Linked DNA regions of Homo sapiens: regions 2 and 3 are each linked to region 1. Evidence: promoter capture Hi-C in human tissues and cell types (Jung and others, 2019). All regions are on one chromosome and are shown on one strand. Each heading gives the region's core, a stretch centred on a gene start or on the middle of the fragment in contact. The rest is flanking DNA. Distances are from core to core; before and after follow the strand shown.

The links. The method cuts DNA at HindIII sites, captures the fragments that hold promoters and counts their contacts. A contact is called where the count stands out against the background at its distance.
Region 2: a fragment that was not itself captured here is called in contact with the fragment with the promoter of GAL3ST1 in region 1 in 2 of the 25 tissues and cell types used here (bladder and lymphoblastoid cells).
Region 3: a contact is called between a fragment that was not itself captured here and the fragment with the promoter of GAL3ST1 in region 1, in 1 of the 25 tissues and cell types used here (IMR-90 fibroblasts).

What each region holds. Positions count from the first base shown.
Region 1 is chr22:30,573,027-30,577,070 of GRCh38, reverse strand. It overlaps GAL3ST1 (galactose-3-O-sulfotransferase 1), which reads left to right and starts at 2,406. Exons shown (of 4, transcript NM_001318104.2): 1 at 2,406-2,605. PES1 (pescadillo ribosomal biogenesis factor 1) reads left to right here. Exons shown (of 15, transcript NM_014303.4): 15 at 1-446. The coding sequence ends at 25. RefSeq lists enhancers at 2,486-3,166, 3,167-3,848. The HindIII fragment of the contact is 15,540 bases long and covers 1-4,044 here.
Region 2 is chr22:30,513,367-30,517,410 of GRCh38, reverse strand. No RefSeq gene overlaps it. Among named protein-coding and RNA genes, the nearest start is that of SEC14L4, 9.7 kb to the right of the region's middle. The HindIII fragment of the contact is 7,876 bases long and covers 1-4,044 here.
Region 3 is chr22:30,532,140-30,536,183 of GRCh38, reverse strand. It overlaps SEC14L6 (SEC14 like lipid binding 6), which reads left to right. Exons shown (of 12, transcript NM_001193336.4): 3 at 2,145-2,188; 4 at 3,328-3,387; 5 at 3,471-3,659. Among named protein-coding and RNA genes, the nearest start is that of SEC14L6, 13 kb to the left of the region's middle. The HindIII fragment of the contact is 8,979 bases long and covers 1-4,044 here.

The DNA of each region.
Region 1 (4,044 bases), core at 1,157-3,656:
GGCCAAGAAGGCAAGGCCGGAGTGAGTGCCTGCGGCCCCTCACAGGGCTGAGGCCAGCCCCTAGCAGCTGGATGTGGCAGAGGCAGGCCAGAGGACCTAAGTGTGATGGACCAGAGTCACTTCTCCTCCTCCTTTCTCCAGCCAGCCCTGACCCCTCATGCTCTCTGGCTGGGCCAGTGGGCAGCCCTCGCTTCCCTTGGATGGAGCTGCCCTGCTGGTGCCTGGTCAGAGAAGAGGCCTCTGTGCCCAGCCTGATTCTCTGCTCCCAGGAGCCAGTGACATGAGGTGCAGAGGCCCACCCAGCCCCCTACCTACTGCCCCCATTCATCCTGGCTTTCCACAGCCCCCTCCCACACAGTTGGACCCGTGATTCTCAGGGTGCTGTGATGGGGTGAGGGTAGGGGGAGCATTTGTTATTAAATGACTGGACTTTTGTGCCAATTGCATTTTGTGTCCATGAGCCTTCCTAGGGTTGGAGGAGGCCTACCTAGCACTCTATGCTGCAGGCTGGGCCAGCCCTGGGTATTTACTGAGACAGAGCTGGGCACTGCTCAGAGCTCTCTGGATGTCCAAGGACCCCTCCAGGTCCAGGGATGCCAAAAGGTAGGTGCAGAGGTTCTGGACCTGGGCTTCACAGCCTGTCTGACCATGGTTCACATTCTAACCCAGGCATTTTCCCTCTGCACCTGCTTCCTCATGTGTCAGTTACTGGTAGAGATTCTGTTCTTTGAAAGGGATGTGTTGAGGGTTCTGTGATAACTTTATAGTCTCAGACCTTATGGACTTGGTAATATCAGGTGTGTGGTAAGTACTTGGTAAACACCAACTGATTTATATCACTTCCTGCTGGACTCGGCCCAGAAGGTAAAAGCCAGAACCGGAAGGATCTGTGGGTCTGCGGTGAGGTCCTGCCCTCAGCTTGCCTTGGCGCGTTGGCAGAACCGCTGAGTACCTCCCAGCGTAGGATTCCGCAGCAGCTGCACTTACGGTCTGTGAGGCCTGCCTGACAGCTTCCCCGCTGACCTTGGCAGTGTCCCTGCTGACGCCCATTGGGATATGCCTTTGCCTGGAACCGCCAGTGCATCATGATGGAGCCAGGACCACAACCTGGGTCTCCCAGTGCTCACTCAGCCCCTCCCAGGACTCACTTCCCGGGGTGAGTGCTGTCGAGGGTTGGGGCCACGCTGAGGAAGTGTGGGTTTGGAATGGCTCTACTTTCCCTGAATCTAGGCACCTGAGGGCCTTGCCCTCTGCCTCTCACTGTTTGCTGGCTGTGTGGGCAGAGAATGTTTTTGTGGCAGTGGATGTAGGTCCAACCTGTGCAGGGGGAAGGCAAGAGCTTGGGCAGGCTCTGGCCTGGGGAGCAGAAAACCTAGGGCTCCCCCTCTCAGCTGGGACTGGCTGTGGGTGGAAGGAGAGGGCTGTGTGCCATTCCCACTCTGTCATGCACACGGCGATGGGAGGGAGTGAGGTTGCCTCCAGAGGCTGGGACAGAGGGTCAGGACCTCTGGAGCCAGAGCCTGCAGCCCCGGGAGACAACTCAGGCCTGTCTGGGGAACTGTGCATCCAGGGCCACACGGCTAGAGCGCAGGCCCATCAGATACGGAAAAATTCCTGGCAGCCATGCTGATGTGGAATTTTCCCCATTCCAGAATCGCCCAGTAATGGCGGGGGCAGTGGGGCTCTGACGCATCCCAGGCCCCACTGGGTGGCCAGCTGGTTCCTTACTGCCCACAGCTGGCGCTGAGGATTCCTGGCCCCTGGCAGGCATTGGTCCTCATCCATGGTCTTGCTCCTCTGGGGTGAAGAAGGAAAGGCCAGGCCTGGAAAATGAGACAGGGCCTGGATGGGACACCTGCCTCCTGGTGGCCTTGCTCAGCCCTCATTGGCACCCTAGAGAGTGACAGCTGAGACCTCCAGGTGACAGGACCAGTTGGAGCTCAGTCTCTTGCTTGAGCTCCCTCCACTCCCATGAGTGCCAAAAATGTGTCGTCCCCAGTTGGCACTGACTAGAGCAAGAAGCCGTATGATCCATTGGATCCTAAGGGCCCCAGGACCCCCCAACCAAAGTTAAGCAATAGTCCGTCCGCCGCCTTTTTCCCAGAGCCCTGGCTCCCCTCCCCACCACCACCAAGCCTGGGCATCCTCAAGTCTTCTGGGCTGGGGGCTCCGTTGAGCCAGAGGACCGGGGCGGGACAATGGCCCCGTTGGCGCGTCCGAGACAAACGGGCCTTGTTGGGCCGGCGGCGGGGGCGCAGCGTTGCGCCCCAGCGCGCTGAATGCGGCTTCTGTGCGTCTCGGGCGGGCGCAGAGGGGCCGGGATGGGGCGGGGAGGGGGCCGGCCCGGGGCGGGGAGGGGTCTGGGGTCCGGGGCGTCCATTGGCCCCGGCGCCGGAGGCTGGGCCAGGCTGGCGGCGGCACCTGGCCGGGAGCGGGCGCGGCGCGGGAGCGGGCGCGGCGCGGCAGCGGCGGCGGGGGCGGGGGCATGGACCAGGCCTGGTGGAGCGGGGGGCCCGGCCGGGTGCGCCCCGCCGCCCAGTGAGCGCCCGGGCGGCGCGGCCCGGGCCGAGCCAGCCACGCTGAGGCGGAGGAGGACGGGGACAAGGTACGTCCCGGGCTCCAGCACCCACTGCCAGCTTGAGCCCTGCCTCAGTCTACTCCCTGGGGATACCGCCCACATTACGCTAACCCCCAAACTGGGACCACGCGCCGGAGGAGGGGAGTAGGAGTGCAGTACCGCTGTTCTAAGCGCTGGGTACCCCTGCCCACTGCCAGAGGGTGGCCTGGTAGGGGCCAGGGAGGGCACAGGTTGGTGCCCCCCATGCCCTTGGTTTTTTCCCCTGTCCCCCAACCCCCCTTCCAGGGCTTCCCAGTCCCTGAAGGTGGGATGGGTGGGGCAGAAGGCAGGCTGCTGGGGCTGAGCTGGAGCTGGGAGTGCGTTAATGATTAATCTTGGACACAGTGGCCAGAGCCCTAGGGGAGGAGGGGCAGAGATCTCCCCTGTCTCCATCAGCCCTTCCTAGAAAGGGGATCAGAGCAGGAACCGGAGACCATAGTAAGGGATGGATCCCCTCTGCTGGGGGAAGGCCCTGGCCTGTACCCCAGAGGAAGCAAAGCCACCAAGGAGAGGTTTGGGAGAGTGGGACAAACCCTGGCATCCAGGAGGGGTCCTATAGGAAATCCTACAGTTCCTGTTTCCTAGCCCAGTGCCCAGGAAGGGGGTCCAGCTTGATCTGCCCCTTCGGTGCCAGGCCAGCATTTTGGTACCAGCACAGAGCACACTACAGACCGAGCCCTGCCCAGTGGGAACTGCCCCGCCCAGCTGCCCAGAGCCAGAGAGGTGATGGGCATGTCTGGCTGCTGTAACCCACACCAGGGGGAAGGAAAGGGAGAGAAGGCAGCATGCCTGACACCTGATCCCCGGGCTGCCGCGGTGACAGGTGCATGAGAATCCTCCAGAGGGGAGAGAGGTGTAGAGGACTGTCCATTCCAGTTGGGAAAACCCAATCTCTTCCTTTACTGACGGGGTGACCTGAGGCCCAGAGAGGGTGAGGCTCATCCAGGCCCACACAGGGGGCACAGGAGGGCAGTCCTGGACCAGAGCAGTCACTGTGTACGCACTGTTCCTTGTCCTGTGAAGGAGGCATTGCTACCTATCCCCATTATCCAGAGGGGGATACTGAGGCTCAGGGAAATTCAATGACTTGTCCAAGGTCACATGGCTCAGAGGTAGCTGAGCTGACTCCAAATCATAGGAGTCTTGCCCTGGCCCCCATTTCAGGACCCCAGCCCAACCCATGACCTCTCTCTGCTCCTTTGGGGTCCTGCCTTCTTGGATCTGCCTGGGCTGCCCCAAACCCTCAGCTCTGGACACCCCCCCTCGCCTCCCTGGCTCCCAGCTCCGCCTGACACTTCAGCGGGTGAGCAGGCTGCTACCCCGGGAGCCGAGACAACGAAGCCCTGTTCCCAGCTGCCACCTCAGCCTGCTTTATTCCCTGCTTGCTCAGGCAGAGCCCTTCCTGGAGGAAGCTCCTTGCGGACAGA
Region 2 (4,044 bases), core at 1,291-3,790, 60 kb after region 1:
GATAACCATCAGCTCAGGTTTTAATCCCCTTGGGAGAAGTCCCAGGTTCCATGCCCCCTGCAATGTAGAGTTAATTGGTTAATAACTTGGAGTTGTAACACCAAGAAATGTCTAATGCCAATTTTGTTTCAGTTGGGCCTATTCAGATAACAATTCCAACAAAATAGTAAAATGCTAATTTTGAAACTCAAGGAAGATGTCAAAGTGTGCAGCTGTAACCCTACACTGTAACCATGTGACTACACTGTAGGAAGGTATAAAAGTAGAACAGAAAGAGTCAATCCACAGATTAATTTCAGGTGGGATGTTTAGGAACAGGTTTAAATATAAGTATAGTACTAATCTGGGGGCCATTGGATCTCTGCATTTGCTGTTTAAAGTGAGGTAGGAGACGGGACTCGACTCCAGGGGCAGGGCTTGGACACTGGACCAAATTGAGGACAAGCTAAAACAGGGCTGGAGTGGAAGCAGCGTTCCATCAGACATGACCATCAGTGTGCCATATCAGTTTACCATTGCCATAACAACACTTGGGAGTTACCGCCCCTTTCCATGGCAATGACCCCATGACCCAAAAGTTACTACCCCTTCCCTAGAAATTTCTGCATAAACTACCCCTTGGTCCGCATGTTATTAAAAGTGGGTATAAATGTGACTGCAAAACTGTCCTGGGCTGCTACTCCCTGCCTATGGGGTAGCCCCACTCTGCAGGGGCAGTCACAGACCTACAACACTGCCTCTTCGATAAAGCTGTTTTCTTCTACCTCCAGCTTGCCCTTGAATTCTTTCCTGTGCAAAGTCAAGAACCCTCAAAGGCTAAGCCCCACTTTAGGACTTGCCTGCCCTGCATCCAAGTTATCTGAAGTGCTCAAAACAATCAGCTGTAATGTATTTGTAATTTACAGGTAGAACATAATGTCCACAGACCAGGTACCAAACAATACCCAGCCCTTGATACTCCCTGAGCGAGCTTGCTGATAGAGATCTGGTGTGGAGCAAAGGTGAGGCGCTGACCTCTCCCCGCCCACTGCTTGCTCCTCCTCACACCCACCATGAATCTTTGCAACAGGCTTCAGACCAGTTTCCCTGCTCTGAATGTCCGCTATTCCCAGGTCATTCTTCAGATCGGGCCCATGGTTATCTTCCAGGCACAGGTGGAATCACATTGGTCTCTTCCTTTGAAACCTTCCATGGCTCCCCACCACTGAGAAGGGATGGCCCAAAGCCCGCAGCATGGCCTGAAGTTCCTTGGTGACCTCCCCTCAATGTTTTCAAGCTTGCTGCCTTCGTGACGTTTCTCCTCTCTCTTACCTCTGTGAGTTTCTTTGGGTGGTCACCTCTACCCAGAATGTCCTCCTCCCCTTTCTACCTTAGAGGCCCATCCTAAATGCCATCTCCTTTGGGAGACATTCCAGGAGCCCCCAGTGCAGTGCTGTTGCTTAGACCTCTTCCGGAACACATTATCTTCAGGGAGCCAGGATAGTGTGGTGATTAAGGACAAGAGGCCTTGGATGCAAATGGATAAGGGTTCAAATCCTGGCTCAGGCTGTTACCAGCCCCAGAAGCTCAGTCTCTGCATCTGTAAAGTAGGATCATGGGTACCACGATGAGCATGGCAAATGTGGTGAGAGTTAACGGGGTGAGTCAAACAGTCACCACAAACAATGCCTAATGAAGATCATACTCTGAAAAAGAGGAGTAGGGTCTGTTTGACCATTTAACCAGGAGGTCTGAGGATGTGAGGTGCCACTAACTAGGCGGTGTGCAGGGAGATGAGGGAGGAGTGTTCAAGTCAGAGGGAACAGCATGTCCAAAGGCCTTGTGGTAGGAGGCAGCAGCAAGGAGAGATTAAATGGCCCCATATACTCCTGACCTGGTGTACTGTGGCTTGGGAAAGGCCAGGGACCTCCTGGCTTTTTCTTTTCTTTTTTGAGATGGAGTTTTGTTCTTGTTGCCCAGGCTGGAGTGCAATGGCTCGGTCTCAGCTCACTGCAACCTCCGCCTCCCGGGTTCAAGTGATTCTCCTGCCTCAGCCTCCCAAGTAGCTGGGATTACAGGCACCCACCACCATGCCTGGCTAATTTTTTGTATTTTTAATAGAGATGGGGTTTCGCCATGTTGGCCAGGCTGGTCTCAAAATCCTGACCTCAGGTGATCCACCTACCTCAGCATTCCAACGTGCTGGGATTACGGAAGTGAGCCACTGCATCTGGCCTTTTTTTTTTTGAGACAGGGTCTTGTTCTGTTGCCCAGGCTGGAGTTCAGCGGCACAATCATAGCTCGCTGCAGCCTCGAACTCCTGGGCTCAAGTGAGCCTCTCACCTCAGACCTCCAAGTAGTTGGGACTATAGGTGCTTTCTACTCTATTGGCTAATTTTTTTTTTCTTCTTTTTGAGGAGACGCAGTCTCACTATGTTGCCCAGGCTAGTCTCAAACTTCTGGCCTTAAGCAAGCCTCCTGCTTTGGCCTCCTAAAGTGCTGGGATTATAGGCATGAGCCACTGCACCCCCCTACTCCTGCTTTTGTAGGGAAAGAAAGAAGTCCAAGTGTGGCCCTAGGGCCCCTGAACCCTAATCCACCTTTTCCCCTGGTCCCAGGACTTTAGGGCAGCTGGCTAGGTTCCCCTTCCCCATCCCTCTCTCTTCCAGGCCCTAGCGGCCATCTCCCTTCCTTGGGGAAGTAGGGAGGGCATGGCCACACCAGGCCTCTTCTTTCCCTGAGGTCACCCTGGGTTGGTGAGGGGAGCTAAGAAAACTCCTTCTGATTAGGCCCCAGAGCCTCATTTCCACCTCCCAGTCAGGCCCAGGTGAGAGGCTGCCGCCCTGCCCCGGGCACCTGTGTCAGGCAGCTTCCTCCCAGCCCTCTCTCCAGAGTCACTCAAGCCAAGTCCAACACAGTTGGAGCAGCATCCAGTGGGATCTGTCTGGTCAAGACAGACTCAGGGAGCGGCTGATACAGCTTTGATGTAGGGCAAAGGCCCATTTCACTTCCCACAATGCATGTCATTCACCCCAGGGAGTTCTCTTCAGTTGGCAGGCCACCGGCTTTAATGAGGGCTGTCAGCATGGGACCTGTGGCAAATGAACAATGCCAGAAATTTTAGGAACACTTGGAAGGTGGGAGTGAGAGGCATCACAGTGCATGGGCATTAAGATGTGGGATGCAGGTTGCATACCATGAGAGCACCATCATCACAGTCCAGCTTCTCAGCTCACGGGTCAGGAGGGACTGTGGGCATGAGCCACATTTCGGAAGGCTGAAAGAGAAGGGCACACCACGTAAGAGAGGCGTTATCTGCCCCCCAAAGCACTGGCGCCCAGATGGTTAGAACTAAAGTTCTCCATGCCCGGCAACAGCTGAGGTTTGAAGGAAGCATCTTTGTGCTGCAGGCTCAGGGGAGGATGTCTGCCCTGTATTGAATAGAGGGGGACATGAGGGTGACCTAAAACCAGGGGAGCTCAGCCCGCAGAAGGACATGGCATAGTGACAAGTGCCAGGGCTCCGGTCCTGGCATTGCTGCTTGCTGGATATGAGACTCAGGAGGCTCTTCGAGCTTCAGTTTCCCAGCCCGACTGCACAGCACAGTGAGGAGGATTAAATGCACTAACGCTGCACTATCCTATATGGCAACCACTCATCCTATTAGTGCCCTAGGACTGCTGTATGTAACACAGTGCCCCACACTGAGCAGCCTGAACAACAGAATTTTATTCTCAGAATTCTGGAGGCTGGAAGTCCAAGATCAAGGTGTCAGCAGGGTTGGTTCCTGCTAAGGATTGTGAGGAAGACTCCGTTTACCACCTCTCCTCTAGCTTCTGATGGTTGGCCAGTAATCTTTGGCGCCCCTTGACTTGTATTATAGATGCATCACTCCACAATCTGTTTTCATCTTCACATGATGTTCTCCCTATGTGCGTGTCTCCCCATGTGCATCCAAATGGCACCATTTATAAGGACATACTGGACTAGAGGCCCACTCTACTCCCATACGACCGCTAATTACATCTGCAATGACCTGTTTCCAAGTAAGGTCACGTTCTAAAG
Region 3 (4,044 bases), core at 505-3,004, 40 kb after region 1:
TACTTTATGTAACTTATGACAAGGCTGGGCTAGGGGTCTCACACCTGTAATCCCAACACTTTTGGAGGCCGAGGAAGGAGGATTGATTGAGTCCAGGAATTTGAGACCAGCCTGGGCAACATAGGGAGACCTCATCTCTACAAAAAAAATTTTAAAACTTAGCCAGACCTGGTGGCACACCTGTGGTTCCAGCCACTCAGGAGGCTGTGGGAGAATGACTTGAGCCCAGGAGTTTGAGACTAGCCTGGACAACATGGCAAAACCCCATCTCTACAAAAAAAAAAAAAAAAAAAAAACACAAAAAACTTAGCCAGGCGTGGTGTTGCCTGCCTGTGTTCCCAGCTACTGGGGAGGCTGAGGTAGGAGGATCACTTGAGCCTGGGAAGTTGAGGTTGCAGTAAGCTATGGTTGTGCCACTGCACTCCAGCCTGGGTGACAGAGCAAAACCTTGTCTCAAAAACAAATAAACAAACAAAAGCTATGACATAGTAGCCAACAGGGTTTCCTAGCTCATCTTTGCTCAGTACCATTTCTTCTAACTAGAATGTCTTTAAACTGCCACCAAATCAAAAAAGAGTCCCGATTGGAGTTCCAAAGACAGGCGTCTAGTCCCCGCTCTGCCTCTTACTAGCAGCATGAGACCTGGGGCCTATGGCCCCCTTCTGTTGGGCCCTCAGTTTCCTCATCTGTTTATAGGGAACAAGACTCTCTCCCCGCCACTGGCAGCTTTCATGGTTGTTATGATGCCCAGATGAAATCAATGTGAGAACTACTCCCCAAGGCCCTGGGGACCAAGTGAAACCACTTGGTTCTCACCAGCCAGAGGCTCTCAGCAGAAGTGCTGCTGCAAAGCCAGTGAGCCAATGGACCAGGCTGACTCTTAGAAAGCTGGGTGACAGCCCAGCTAAGGCTGGGCTCAGGGCAGAGGACTGCTTTGACAGCCTGCTGGGGCCGCTAGGACCTCACTCCCATTTGTTTATAACATCCACTGGGTGTTTTTCTGATTATGAAATCAGAGCCCATTTATCATGGAAAATCTGGAAGGTATAGAAAAAGAAAAACAAAATGATATTTCTATAAATCACCCATAATCTCACCATGGCCATTAGGCAAACTTATATATAATTTTTCTTTTCTTTTTTTTTTCTTTTTATAGGGACAGAGTCTCACTATGTTGCCTAGGCTGGTCTCGAACCCCTAGGCTCAAGCAATGTCACTGCAACCTCCACCTCCTGGGTTCAAGTGATTCTCCTGCCTCAGCCTCCCAAGTAGCTGGGATTACAGGTGCCCACCACCATGCCCAGCTAATTTTTGTACTTTTAGTACAGACGAGATTTCACTATGTTGTCCAGGCTGGTCTCGAACTCCTGACCTCAGGTGATCTGCCCACCTTGGCCTCCAAAAATGCTGGGATTATAGGCATGAGCCATAGTTCCCAGATGAGTTTGGTGATTTTTTTAAAGAGTATTAAGGGGGCTGGGCACAGTGGCTCACACCTTTAATCCCAGCATTCTGGGGGGTGAGGCAGGCGGATCATTTGAGGTAAGGAGTTCGAGACCAGCCTGACCAACATGGTGAAACCCCATCTCTACTAAAATACAAAAATTAGCCAGGCGTGGTGGTGGGTGCCTGTAATCTCAGCTACTCAGGAGACTGAGGCAGGAGAATCACTTGAACCCGGGAGGCAGAGGTTGCAGTGAGCCAAGATCATGCCACTGCACTCCAGCCTGGGTGACAGAGGGAGACTCCTTCTCAAAAAAAAAAAAAAATTTTTTTTAAGTAAAAATTAAAGAGTATTAAGGGCTCCTGAGGCCAAAATGTTTGTGATCTGCTGATTTAAACAATTCTCAGCCTTATGATTCTGACAGATTCTGAGGGTCTGCTGTCTCAATGACTTTTCTGGAACAACAGGAAAAGGGCCCCAAGGCCCACCAAGGGGCATGCCCAGGGAATCAAGGAGCCTGTGTCCAGTGTTCCTGGGTCTCCGGATATCTCAGCCATTGTGGCTCCCCAGGTCAAGAACAAGGCCCTCTGGGTAACAGGAGACAAAGCTGGCCTGGAGGGTGGGGCAGGGCCGTTGTCTCTCCAGAAGCCTGGAGTGAGCCTCTAGAATTCCACAACCATAACCCTGTCTCTTGTTGCAGCTCGGAGCTTTGACCTGCAGAAATCAGAGGACATGCTGAGGAAGGTGAGGTTGACACCTCCCCCTGCCTAGCCTGGTCCTGTTTCCTATCCCAAGTCTGAGGCACAAATTTATTCATTCATTCATCCATCCATTCATTCATTCATGGAACACCCATTCATTGAGACTGGAAGGTAAACCTGGCCTGGTGCTAGGCGCTGGGGAGACTGCCGTGATGGGAAGAGAGAAAAAGAAACCAGAGGAACAAAGAAGACAATTCCTGAGAATGGAAAGTACAATGAAGACAGCAAAACAGGGAAGGAGGGAAGAGAGGTCAGGGACATTTCAGCAGGGACATGAATGCCCAAAAGGAAGCAAGCATGTGAAGATCAGGGTGAAGAGCACAGCTCATGCAAAGGCCCTGAGGTGGGAATGAGCTGGTGTATTCTTTTTTTTTTTTTTTGAGACAGTCTTGCTCTGTCACCCAGGCTGGAGTATAATGACGTGATCTTAGCTCACTGCAACCTCCGCCTCCCAGGTTTAAGCAATTCTCCTGCCTCAGCCTCCCAAGTAGCTGGGATTACAGGCATGCACTACCACACCCAGCTAATTTTTGTATTTTTAGTAGAGACAGGGTTTCACCATGTTGGCCAGGCTGGTCTTGAACTCCTGACCTCGGGTGATCCACCCACCTTGGCCTCCCAAAATGCTGGGATTACAGGCGTGAGACATTGTGCCTGGCCTGAGCTGGTATATTCTAGGAGCACACGGAGATCGTGTTGGAGAGAGAAGGGGAAGTGATGAGGTTACAGGGTGGCCCCAACACATCAGCCAGGCTCTGCAGGCCTTGTAGGGGGGTATAGGTTTTTGCTTAAGGGCAACTGGAAGTCAGGAAGTAGAGTCTGACTCCCAGGGCAGCCATGCGGGAGGGGGCATGGGAAACATCTGGAAGGATGCAGGGGGAGACAGCTGCAGAGTGCAGGCCTCCCCTGTCCCTTTCTAGGTCTCTCCTGGCCTCTCAGATGCATGTCCCCTTCCATCCCCATCCTGTTTCCATCCCCCAGTTCTATGTCAGTGGAGCCTGGGGATGCTCTGGCAGGCCCTTAGTGGTTGCAGGCAGAGGGACCTGGCCTGGTGTCCCCAGGTATCCACAGAGGTCTTTGGGACAGGCAGAATCTTCACCACCTCCTGCCGTGTCTCTGCAGCATATGGAGTTCCGGAAGCAACAAGACCTGGCCAACATCCTTGCCTGGCAGCCCCCAGAGGTGAGCATCTCTCAAACCCATACCCTGATCCCTGGGCCCTCAGCCCTCGGCACTGAACCCCCGTCTCCTGTGTATGCATCCAGGTGGTCAGGCTGTACAACGCTAACGGCATATGCGGCCACGACGGTGAGGGCAGCCCTGTCTGGTACCACATTGTGGGAAGCCTGGACCCCAAAGGCCTCTTGCTCTCAGCCTCCAAACAGGAGTTGCTCAGGGACAGCTTCCGGAGCTGCGAGCTGCTCCTGCGGGAGTGTGAGCTGCAGAGTCAGAAGGTGTGTGGGTGCCACCCTGGGCAGCTGCAGCCGGACACAGCACCCTCACCCCCTGAGCCTCACACCCAGAATCTGCCTTCCTGGGCTCCTGGGCTCCTCGGCTCCTCCTGGTACTGTGGAGTGAATGCAGGTTCAGAGAGGCCAAGGACCCACCCAAGGCCACACAGTATGTGGCTGAACTGGGAATCATTTCTCCCCCAATTGGCCCCAAAGCCCACTCAATCCACTGGGCCACACTGCCCTCTGCAGCCTCATTGGACGAGAGGGACAGGGATTTCAGCCCCACTGGACCGAAGAGGGAACTGCAACACAGCGATTTGGCCTCCCATGGACAGACACAAAGAGGTCGGTCCTTGGGTCACTCCGGTCCTGGCATCCTGTGGGA